3 separate regions of the Homo sapiens genome follow, and regions 1 and 3 are each linked to region 2. The links are contacts of gene promoters, found by promoter capture Hi-C in blood cells and fetal thymus (Javierre and others, 2016). All regions are on one chromosome and are shown on one strand. Each heading gives the region's core, a stretch centred on a gene start or on the middle of the fragment in contact. The rest is flanking DNA. Distances are from core to core; before and after follow the strand shown.

Region 1 (3,169 bases), core at 427-2,926, 820 kb before region 2:
CCCAGGGGAGTGAACATACTATCTCCTGATGAAAATTGACTCTGGAGTTGGGTGTCAATTTCAGGTAGCATAGTTGCTTATACTGTTTGGCTCTGTGTCTCCACCCAAATCTCATCTCGAATTATCCCCACGTGTTGTGGGAGGGACCTGGTGATTGGATCAAGGGGGCGGTTCACCCCATACTGTTCTTGTGATAGTGTTGTTTGGCAGTTCCACCCTCGCTCGCCTCTCTCTTGCCACCATGTAAGATGTGACTTGCTTCCCCTTTGCCTTCCGCCACGATTGTAAATTTCCTGAGGCCTCTCCAGCCATGCGGAACTGTGAGTCAATTTAACCTTTCTTTATAAATTACCAAGTCTCAGGTAGTCCTTTATAGCATTGTGAAAATGGGCTAATACAGTTGCTTTCTAGGCTTTATGAGCCCAGTTTCAGAGTCTTAAAAATAACTCAGGTAGATACAGGTTGTTGTGTCTTGTTCTTGGAAAAAGGTATCTATTCCTGGGCTTTGTTCTTCAACTTTCTGTAGACCTGGAATATGGGAGTGAGTGCCACCTAGTGCTACCTTATGGTTAGGTTTTTAGGTTCAGACTGAAATAGCTGTTACGGGGAATTGGATGTGAGATTTTTTTGCCACCTTTCTTGTAGTGTAGTTTCCCTAGGCCATTAACAGTTTTTGGGAAAACTTTTATATTTTATTAAACAAACTTTATTGTAAGAAACACTCATATGTATGGAAGTTGAGAGAATAGTGTAGTAAACTCCCAGGTATCCATTACCCTGTTTCAACAATTAATTGACAGTTTTGCTAATCTTGTTTCTTTTATGTCCTAACTCTGTTTTGTCAGGAATGTACACACACACACACACACATATATATACACACACACACGTATATATTCCTGACAAAGTGAATACAAGTGAAATAAATATGTGTATATATGTGTGTGTGTGTGTGTACATATATAGATATTTTAGATATATAGACATATCTATATATCTAGATCTAGATCTATATATAGATTTTTTTTTTTCTGATACAGGGTCTCACTCTGCTGCCCAGGCTGAAGTGCAGTGGCATGATCACAGCTCACTGCAGCTTTGACCTTCCAGGCTCAAGCGATCCTCCCACCTCAGCCTCCCTAGTACCTGGGACTACAGGCATGCATCACCATGCCTGGCTAATTTTTGAATCTTTTTGTAGAGACAGGGTCTCACTGTGTTGCCCAGGCTGGTCTCGAACTCTGGGGCTCAGGCGATCTGCCTGCCTTGGTCTCCCAAAGTGTTGAGATTACAGGCGTGAGCTTGTGCCCTGCTGTCAGGAATGTTTTTAAGTTAGCCTTAGACATCATATACTTTCACTTACATAGGTTGAGTATCTTTTATCTGAAATGCTTGGGACCATAAATGTTTTGGATTTCAGATTTATTTTTGGATTTTGGAATATTTGCATGGTACTTACCAGTTGAGCATCCTAATCTGAAAATATGAAATCTGAAATGTTCCAATGATATTTCCTTTGAGCTCAAACAGTTTTGATCTTGGAGGATTTTAGATTTTTGGATTAGGGATACTCAACCTGTAATACTCCTGTATACATCTTGTAACTGCTAAGCAGATTTCTTTTAAATAATCACCATATTATACCTAACAAATTTAGCAGTTTTGTTACTATCATCCAATACCCAATCTGTATTCAGATGTTCTTGATCATCTCAGAAGTGTCTTTTTACAGTTGGTTTGTTTGAATAAGGATTCAAATGAAGTCCATGCATTGCCTTTGGCTGTTAGGTATCTCTTGTAATAATCTCCTATTTATTACTTTCATTCTGTTGATTTGTTGAAGAAACAGGCATTTGAGCTGTAAGCTATTCTTTAGAAGAAATTGAACTCCTTTCTAACTGCTTTCTTCCCTTTGTGTGTGTATGTGTGTGTGTGTGTGTGTGTGTATTTAAAACAATCTATCTTTACCCTTGGTGGTAACCAATCTTTACAACTGAAATAAATAGTAAATAGTTTCTTGCCATCTGTTCACCCACATCACTGTTGTTTCATACCTCCTTTTCACAAATCCTAGCATAGGGTTTCTCACTGGATAGGCATTATCTTGTTTATTGAATGAAGAAGGAAACAGACACAAGGTGGTTTGTCCACGTAAGTGGGATTTAGTTATATGGGAATGTTTATGGAAGGCAGGCTATTACTTTGTTTCTCTTTAGTTTGGATCTTTTTTGTCTCATAGGGAGATGCAAGATACATGTGTATTTATCTTATTTCCATGTACTAGAAAATAAGATCCCAAAGGGTAGGGATCTTTCTGTTGCCTTTGCCCTGTGATGTTTCTCAAAGACCTAGAATAGTGCTTGGCACAGAGTAGGTGCCCAGTAAATGTGTTGAATTGGGTGACCCAATAAAAATAAATGCCATAAAGAAAATGTCCCAGGCTGGGCATGGTGGCTTAGGCATGTAACCCTAGTGCTTTGGAAGGCCAAGGCAGGAGGATCACTTGAGCTTAGGAGTTTGAAACTAGCCTGGGCAACATAGTGAGACCTTGTCTCTACAAAAAAATTTAAAAAGAAAAATTATCCAGGGGTAGTGTTGTACGCCTGTGGTCGCAGCTACTTGAGAGGCTGAGGCAAGAGGATTGCTTGAGCCTAGGAGTTCCAGGTTACAGTGAGCTATGATTGTACCACTGCACTCCAGCCTCGGCAACAGAGTGAGACTTTGTGTTGAAAAGAGAGAGAGAAAAAAATGTCCCAGCAACTGAGCATAGGGTATGACTTTAGGAATATATATTTTTGTTCAGTATATATTTATTTAGTATACAGTCCAGTCAATCCCTGCTCTAAGGTTAGGATAATTCTGAGTGGCTCTGGGATCCCACAATTAGCAATCGTGCTTAGATACAATTAGCAATCTTGATGCTCTGAATTTGTGTGTGTGTGTGTGTGTGTGTGTGTGTGTGTGTGTGTGTGTTGGGGAATGTGCAAAATAGATGTGGAACCCATAGTTTCCTTAGACAAGAGTAGGTCTTCTGAGCCCTGCTTAAAAAAAGAATATGGATTTAAATCTGTTGTCCATCAGCTTCTAGGTAGAATTAAAAAAAAATGTATTGATGGTAAGTGGGGTGAGGAATTTTTAAAAAGATACACTGATGTCTGGAGCCATACCT
Region 2 (4,486 bases), core at 870-3,369:
GCACCAAATCATAAACTTTCCCCAGCCTATGGAAGACATAATTCATCATTTAAAGTAAACTTTGATGACATACATAAGAATAAGGAAAGAATTTAGAACTATTGGTAAAATAGTACAACTGCACTACTTTTAAGAATCTTATAATTAGGGTACTTATTACTTTGTTTTAGTTTATAATGATTTGTAAACCATAAGTCGTACCTAGTAACAAAAAGACTTTCTTTTAAAAGTTAATTGGAGATGACTGTTAGGTTATCAGCTTGCTTTGTTTCTCCACAGATTTGTTCATTATAATTGTATTAGTTTGTTTTCATGCTGCTGATAAAGACATACCTGAGACTGGGAAGAAAAAGAGGTTTAATTGGACTTAACAGTCCCATATGGCTGGGGAGGCCTCAGAATCATGGTGGGAGGAAAAAGGCACTTGTTACATGGCAGTGGCAAGAGAAAATGAGAAAGATGCAAAAGCAGAAACCCCTTATAAAACCATCAGATTTCATGAGACTTATTAACTACCAGGAGAATAGTATGGAGGAAACTGGAGGAAACTGCCCCCATGATTCTAATGAACTGCCTTCAAGTCCCTCCCACAACACGTGGGAATTATGGGAGTACAATTCAAGATGAGATTTGGGAAGGGATACAGAGCCAAACCATATCAATAATTAACACTCAAAATTTACCTGAGTTAAAATTTTTCATTTGAATTGGGACACTGACTTCTGGTTTTATTTTTCTTCCCTTTTTAGGGTCAGTGACAGAAGAAGCTGCTTGCGTGCAAGACAGAAATGAAGTAAACTGGTAGGTTTCCTTCTCGCAATGTGAAGGTTTTGTCTGTGAAATAAAGTTGGGATGTGGTGATCATAGCCAGTTGTAAGAAAAGGATTTCTTGTATTTCTGGATCCCAGGGTTTGCCTTCAAAGCTCAACAGGTCTGGAATTTTTTTGTTTGTTCAGAGAAGAATCTTACCCTAGGAAAACTGGCTCACACTAACCATAGGGAGGAACACAACTGCCAAATGGACTGAGATGTGTGTTGGTCTGTCAGTGTATTCTCTTTTCAGTAGGGATGCCAATTCAGAAACCTAAATTAACAAAAGATAGGAGCTGAATAAACATTTGAAATCAAAATTAAGAAGGGGATTGAAAGGCTAAACTTGTTTCATTTGACATACATCAGCCAGGATGATGCCAGTCTTCACAAGTTATGACATTTCCATCAATCATCCCAAGCTCTTAGTTTCCAATACTGTCAGCTTCTCTTTCCCTTACACGCCAACAGGGGTTTGTGCTGCATTTTAAACCTCGTTTCTCAAAACTACTCTCAGACTTAGTTGACACTGTAGTCCTCAAGTGTATGATCTTCCTGTATTCACATAGTTTTGAAGGCCCCATATACACTGTACATAAAAACCAGAATTTTAGTACACTGGAGGGAGACCCCGTAATCAATAATGTTCATTTACTTATTCATGCATTCTTTGAGCATTTGTTTATTTATTAATTCCCATATGTATTCATTCAATAACAATTCATGAAAATGCCTTGTGCTGGACAAATTGGGAATACAGATATGAATCAGACATGATCTTTACCCTCAAGCAGTGTGCAGTCTAGTAAAGGGATAATAAATATACAAAAATAATGAAACTATGTGTTAAATTGTGAGCCTCAAGATGAAGGGGTTGGGAGAGGGGCACTCCAGATGGAGGGAACAACTTAAGCAAAGGTACTTCTACTGTTTCTAATTTTGACTTGTATTTTTTAGGTTTCCTCAGCCTTTGCCCCTCAGGCTTGCACAAGCTGTAGCTTTCTTGTTACTAGGTAAACACTCTTTAGATTTTCCTGAAAATTTCATCTTACCATGGAACCTACTGGAATCAGTGAAAATCTAGATATGTCGGTTGTCAAGGAAGGAGATAGGGTGAGGAAGGCTGTTATATAGCCATTGTGTGAGTATGCATAGCCTCTGACTCCCTGCTATTTGAATTTCTCTGCACCAATGAAATAAAAAGAAATAAAATTTGAGTAACGTCATTTGCTCAAGGGACTTACCTTTCATTTGTGCAAATAAGGTTTCTGTGGTGAGACACCAGATAAACTCAACTTCCTCTTTCAACAACAAATGTGTCAGTTATCAGCAGGATCCATGCCGCCAGAGTAAAGCTTTCTACCCTTTACTCCCTGCAAAGAAACAAGAGTGCTTATCCCAGCTAAGCTCCAGGGTAAGTTAATGCCTAGCACCTGGGGATTGGTGGTTTCATGTGGGAAGATTGGTGTGATCATAAAAATCAGAACAGAGGTGGATGTGGGGCCAGTGTCTGTATTAAAATTGTCACTGGTTTCTCATCTCAGACATCTTACAACAGGAGCAAAGATAATTACTGTTGAGTTTGACCAGAGTCCAAAGTTAACGTTAATGCCATCAGTCCTCTTCATTATGCCAGGAGCATGGAGTCTGTGATGCAGCTCACTCTTTGATGAGGGCTCTTTAGAGAGTGGGACCAGAGAAGATGGCACAAAGTGGTAAGAAGAGTATATTCAGTGAGACTCATTGGGACAACTTGACATATTCGGCCAATAAAAGTCAATTTAATTTTTTATGGTGTATAATTTATCTAGCTGCATCGTGAAGGAAGATTTTTGGGTATAAAATCCTTGCTTTGGAAAATTTAGCTTTCAGAGATACTGAGACAAATAGTAGAAAGCAGGGTAATAGATTCTGGGGGCTGAAAGGGCCCATAGAGATCCAAATCCCTCACAATACAGTCAGGAAAACTGAGAGCCAGTGAAGTGAAGACACTTAGGTTCACTCAGCTTGTTAGTGGTATAGGTGGATCTAGGACCTGTGTCTTTAAACTCATGTTTGCCTTTTCCTACAGCAGTTTGCATCTCCCAGAGAATACTGTAAATTTATTTGTGACCCTGCCATTTTTTAGGATAGGAAAGGAGAAAGTATCCCAGATGACTTCAGAGTCTGGTCAGAGTGGTTCCTTGATCCTTTGAAAGCTAATTTTGACCGAAGTTCAGCCTTACTGGATAGCAAAGCCCATGAGTGAGGCACTCATTTTTTCAGTTATTATTGCTATTACTCTGAATACTAGCACCTCTCTCCTTCTGAGCTAAGATGACTAAATCAAAAGGAGACTTTCAGCTAAGGAGTCCCTGAAGGGAGACTGTGCCAAATCATTTGGAACCAGGATAAGGCTGGATAGAATGATACCAGATTTGGCTGTGCTTTCCAGGGGAGTAGGCTCAGTTCCAAGAATCCTGCAAGTGAGAATATTTTTATTTCAGTTGTTCAAATGGATGTGTGGAGTCATTATGATGTATATTAATTGGAGAATCTATCTCTTAGCAATTGCAGCACAGTAAAATTAACCACTTATGAAAGTAGGTGATATGCAGATATACTGAGGTGGAAAATGGTGTAAACTACAGTCAGAATCAGATCACACATTTGGGGCAATTGTTTTTGCAATGGTTCCTGTTGAACACAGATTCTTTGGCCAAATGCAGTTTATTTTGGGGCTCAACTGGGAAAGTTGTAGAGTTCAAGTTGTACAGACTACTCAAATCTGAAGACATCAAATGAATAAACACATTTATGGGTTGTTTTGGTTTGAAATAAGTGAGTTGGGGTTTTAAAAGACAGGCCAGCCTGCTGGGCTTGGTGGCTCACGCTGTAATTCCAGCATTTTGGGAGGCCGAGACAGGTGGATCACCTGAGGTCAGGAGTTCGAGACCAGCCTGGTCAACATGGCGAAACCCCGTTTCTACTAAAAAATACAGAAATTAGCTGGTTGCAGTGGCAGGCGCCTGTAATCCCAGCTACTGGGCAAGCTGAGGCTGGAGAATCGCTCGAAACCGAGAGATGGAGGTTGCAGTGAGCTGAGACTGTGCCATTGCACTCCAGCCTGGGAGACAGACCAAGACTCTGGCTCAAAAAAAAAATAAAAAAAAGATAGGCTGCCTATCTATACTATAGCTCTCTGTCATGGCTCAAGCAAAGAGAACAAAGCTGTTTATAGTAAAATGAGACTTTCTAAAAGCACTAACAATCAGGGCAATGGTTCCCCGGTGGTCTATGATTTATTTTAAAAGCTTTTGGCAAAAAGGTTTATTTATTCTTCAGATCAGTATATTTTGTGGAGAAGTTTTCTCCTAGTATCAGTTCATATACATCACAGGTAGAGTGATCAAATAGATAGATCAATACATAAGGAGTCAGAAGTCTGTGTTATAGTTCAAGTTCTGCCAATGACTGGTGTGGCCTTCGGTGAGTTATTTCATTTCTGTGCATCTCAATAATCTCATCTATTATAATGGGAGAGGGCTTGGAATAGATGGTTCCTAATTTCCTTCCTAGCAATCCAATGATTTGAGTTAGACTGTTAGATACCTAAGAATAGTTAAATGTTATGGAGTGGTGAATAATGGGGCCATAATAGGGAAATCTATCTAGAGAGGACATTCTGGAAATGTAG
Region 3 (4,297 bases), core at 1,629-4,128, 810 kb before region 2:
TTTACTAGAGGATGAGTAAAATTATTAATAGTAACACATACACAAGAATTTCTGATTCACTTTTTGACTTGCATTATAGTTCAAAACCAAGTGCTGAGGCACTGCTTTACCAGCCAGAAATGCCATTGTCTCCTCTCACTTACCTATAGTAGGAGTAGTAGGTTTGCTACTAACAGCACCAACACTTAATCGTGGAACTAGTCTCCCTTGGTTAGGTCCCTAGGGGATTTAAAAAACAAATTAATGTTAAGATGTGACACCTAAATTTACCAGGAATGAAATTAGGATTGCTGATGTAAATGATTATGGATAATCCATGGCAAGAAAGTCCTGTTTTTGTTCTCTCAGTGTTCTAAATCCAACATTTAATCTGGGGTTTGTATAAACATATATACATCTCTATCTATATAAAAATAGATATGAATACGTATAAAATCTTATGCAGTATTAAAGTTTAAGATAGCGGTTATCCCCATTCAAATAAGACTGTAACTACTTTGTGATTTTTAATCTTAACTGGTCAATTTCTTAACCCAAAAAAGAATAAAACTCTTATAGTGGAACTTCAGAAAAGGCAGCCTATTATGGGGAGAACTTTTTCAGTGGTGGGAGAGCTTTATGTCATATTTTAGAAAGCTGGCCTAATTCCTGATGGTATCATTTCCTCTGTTATTAGGCCTCACTAAAAAACTATGATATAGTGGAAAGACTGGGAGTTATGAGGCTTGGAATCAGTCCTAGCTTTGCTACTAACTTCATAAATGAGTTCAGGCCCTGCTTCCTGATGTGAAAAATGACTGTTGAGTTAGATGAACACTAAAGTTCCATCTAGCTCGAAAATTTTTTAAAATTAAAAAAATTCTAGTAAGTTATCTTAACCTTTAATCTACTATACTAGCTACAGGAATTTGCTTTTCACAAAGTCCCCTATCATATTCCACCTTTTAAAAAAAGAAAAGTTGACTAAAATTTCTTACCTTTTTAATTAAGGACTTCAGCCTATAGTTTGGAGCTGTTAAGCAGTATCTATCAGGTGGCAGTCTAGGTCCTGCATATGGCTTAATCAGTGGCAAAGGGGTTTGATTTTTCTGCCTTGCGATATCCAGTAAAAACTTAAAAAAAAAATCCTTATTAGAACTACAGTTTTAAAAATTGTAAGTAAAAATAACTTCAAATCAAAGTTTGCTCACATCTCTTGGGGGAGGAGAGGTAAAAGATTGGTCAGCACGACACTGGATTGCCAGTCTCACATCATCTGCATCAACATTAGGTTTCTTAGCATGGCTCGAATAAATTTTTGCATCATCCAGAATTGTAGTCACATAACCTATAAGAACAAAACAATCTTTTCTTAAACATATGAAGACAGCTTAATATTTATGGCTACTTGTCTTAATAAAACTTTCCACTAATTTGTAGACGGTTTATAAATTTTGTGGGTTTTTGTAGAGACAGGGTCTCGCTATGTTGCCCAGGAAACTCCTGGCCTCCCCGCGACAGCCTCCCGAAGTGCTGAGATTACAGGTGTAAGCTACTGTGCTCAGCCTAAATGCTGATTTTAATAAGTAATTGTCCTGTCTATATGATCAGTTTTAAACAGATATCACAGTGTGAATACTACTGTCCCCTAGCTTGAGCTCCTTTCGTTCTTTAGGCTGAATTCTATGATACTGTTAACATAATTTGGTTGAAAATGTTCTTACAAGGCTGGGTGCGGTGGCTCACGCCTGTAATCCCAACACTTTGGGAGGCCGAGATGGGGGGATCACTTGAGTCAGTAGTTCGAGGCCAGCCTGGGCAATATGGCGAAACTCCCTTTCTACTAATAATACAACACTTAGCCGGGCGTGGTGGCAAGTGCCTGTAGTCCCAGCTCGGGAGGCTGAGGCACAAGAATCGCTTGAACCCAGGAGGCGGAGGCCGCAGTGAGCCAAGATCGCGCCACTGCCTTCTAGCCTGGGCAACAGCGAGTCCCTGTCTCAAAAAAGAAAATAAAAGAAAATGTTCTTACAATAAAAATATCTTTTCAAGTTCACAAGTTAGGCAAGTTTTTGGTGTTTCATTAACTTACGGAAAGCAAATTCCAACATTTGATTTATAACCCTTGGTTCATACTCTGTGATTCCCATATCCTTCAGGATCTGTGCCATCACCTGTGGATTCAAATAAAAACACCAGATGCAGAATTTGGTACTGGAAATCAAGGCTGCACTGAAGGGTAGTATTTATATTTATGATACAAGGTTCCCCTTCTTTGGGCTCCAAAGTCCTACTCACCCTTGCCCTCCCAAGTGAGTCAGTGATCACACGAAATCGCATAGTACGCTTTTGCAGAAAACTTTTATTTTTATTTTTTGGCGGGGTTGGGGGCGGGGTGTGGGGCAAAGAGAAGACAGAATTTGGCTTCTCCAGCAGAGGTAAGTAGCTCCAGCTGGTTGTCATTTTTGGCTGTGGCGGCGGGTTAAGGTAGCATCAGAACCCTGGACGCGGAGTCAGGGCTGGCAGATAGCTAGAGACGAGGGGGAGGCAGGGGCCCGAAGCCCAGGACACAAAGCTGGGCAGCCGTTCCGCAAGCTCCACTGGACCGCGACCCTCTGGCAAGACTTGGCCCAAGCGGCGAGATAGGGGCCCGGGGGCCAGGGCGCATCCCCATCACCCTCTCCTCCTGACGGCCCTGACTAGACTGAAACGAGCGTGCGAGCCGACCCTCAGGCCCTCAGCGTGGCCCCGCCTCGCAGGTCCCTGGCTGCACCTGGCTTCGCGATCCGCGGCTTATCCTTCGCACTTACCAAGGCATCTCTCGGAGCGTTCTTGGGAGGCGCCATCTTGCCCGACTCCATGTTATCCAGCCACTCGTCATCCGCGGAGACAGAGGAGAGAGGAGAGCTCGCGGGCTCCTCGCTCAGGCTCCACCCCTGCGGGGAGCGGGAGGAGGGAAACGGAAGGCGGGGTTACGTGCCAGCCGCCGGGGGCGGGAGTTTCAGCAAGCCGCTGGCCAGGGGAAGAGACGCGCTGGGGTGCCCGAGTTCAGTATTGGAAGAGGCAGGTAATCCTTCCCCATGGAGCCTGCTGGGGCCTGAAAGAAGTAGAGGGGCCGAGAAGCTCGACTTCCCAGAGTTGTTTCCCGGCAAAGGGCACCAAGTGGGCCAACCTCACCTTTGCGGGGGTCCCTCCTCACACCTCCACGGCTACCACCTTTGCCCCTTTCGGCCTCCCGGAATTCCAGACCCAGTCGGTGTTAGGGCTGCTTGGTCCAACACAGTTGGACCCGTTACGTTTGAATGTCACATCAACAAGGAATACATTTTTAGTATAAGTATATCCCAGATTTGCACAGGCCATACTTATGCTACGAAATAATTGTTCTGATATTCATATTTAACCGGGTGTCCTGGATTTTTATTAGCTAAATCTGACAATCCTACCCAATAGCTTGCTCTCCCCACAGCAAGACTTTGGTCAGCCCTTGTCACACTCAAAGCCCTACCGTGGCTGCCCATTTCACACTGATGAAAAACTAAAGCCTTCACTCGGCCCGTTAGAGACCCTCTAGCCTCTCTTGGCCCTGGAGCAGCTTCCTGTCTCCCCGCTGAGGCCAACACAGGACCCTTCCTTGCCTCCCAGTTACACCCTTCCCAGCCCCTCACCCACAGAACAGCCCGAATGACTTTTCGTGAGAACCTACCATCCAGCCCCAGTGACTTTCAAAAAATGTGCATCAGTTAACTATCTCTGGCTTAAAATGTCGCAGATAACTCATTCTTACCCTCCACATCCACCAACGCCCTAGGATTCTCCCTCAGGAACAGGAACCGTGACTCACCCAGGCCAGAAACGGAGCAGGCAGCCATGTTGGCGCTTTCCCTCACAATCCACACTCAACCTAGCAACAAGTCTTGTCCGGGTGACCTCCCAAAGTTCTATCCATGTCTCCACATCTCCATCCAGTGCTACTATGCTAACGAGTCCAAGCCAACATCCTTACCAAGATTACAGAAATATGCTCCCCAAATAGTGTCCCCCCACATTCCTTACACAGCTAGACGGACCTTTCAGTCATAAATCCAATCATTATTTTCCTTAAAACCCTCCAGTGGCTCTCCTCACAAACACTTACACAAATACATACTAATTTCCCAGGCTTAGCGGGTCCTTCAGTTTTGTGGCGCAGCTCACCTCATCAGACTCATCAGAATCAGCAGTCCACCTGGCCGCCATCTTGAAGTTTGGGCAGGAACTCCCCCCAACCAAGAACCATGTGTTCTCAATACATTGTTTCCAGTGAGAGCACGTGCTC

Evidence for each region. The method cuts DNA at HindIII sites, captures the fragments that hold promoters and counts their contacts. A CHiCAGO score of 5 or more calls a contact.
Region 1: a contact is called between a fragment that was not itself captured here and the fragment with the promoter of P2RY10 in region 2, in 4 of 17 cell types (non-activated CD4 T cells, total CD4 T cells, naive CD8 T cells and 1 more). The highest score is 6.4, in non-activated CD4 T cells.
Region 3: a contact is called between the fragment with the promoter of TAF9B here and the fragment with the promoter of P2RY10 in region 2, in 8 of 17 cell types (naive CD8 T cells, neutrophils, naive CD4 T cells and 5 more). The highest score is 10.1, in naive CD8 T cells.

What each region holds. Positions count from the first base shown.
Region 1 is chrX:78,119,480-78,122,648 of GRCh38, forward strand. The region is part of intron 6 of PGK1 (phosphoglycerate kinase 1); the gene reads left to right. Among named protein-coding and RNA genes, the nearest start is that of PGK1, 17 kb to the left of the region's middle. The HindIII fragment of the contact is 7,637 bases long and covers 1-3,169 here.
Region 2 is chrX:78,943,272-78,947,757 of GRCh38, forward strand. P2RY10 (P2Y receptor family member 10) reads left to right here and starts at 2,120. Exons shown (of 4, transcript NM_014499.4): 1 at 2,120-2,224. The HindIII fragment of the contact is 3,107 bases long and covers 1-2,163 here.
Region 3 is chrX:78,136,772-78,141,068 of GRCh38, forward strand. It overlaps TAF9B (TATA-box binding protein associated factor 9b), which reads right to left and starts at 2,879. Exons shown (of 7, transcript NM_015975.5): 1 at 2,790-2,879; 2 at 2,072-2,153; 3 at 1,191-1,327; 4 at 978-1,112; 5 at 144-219. The coding sequence starts at 2,840. RefSeq lists an enhancer at 2,568-2,877. The HindIII fragment of the contact is 21,206 bases long and covers 1-4,297 here.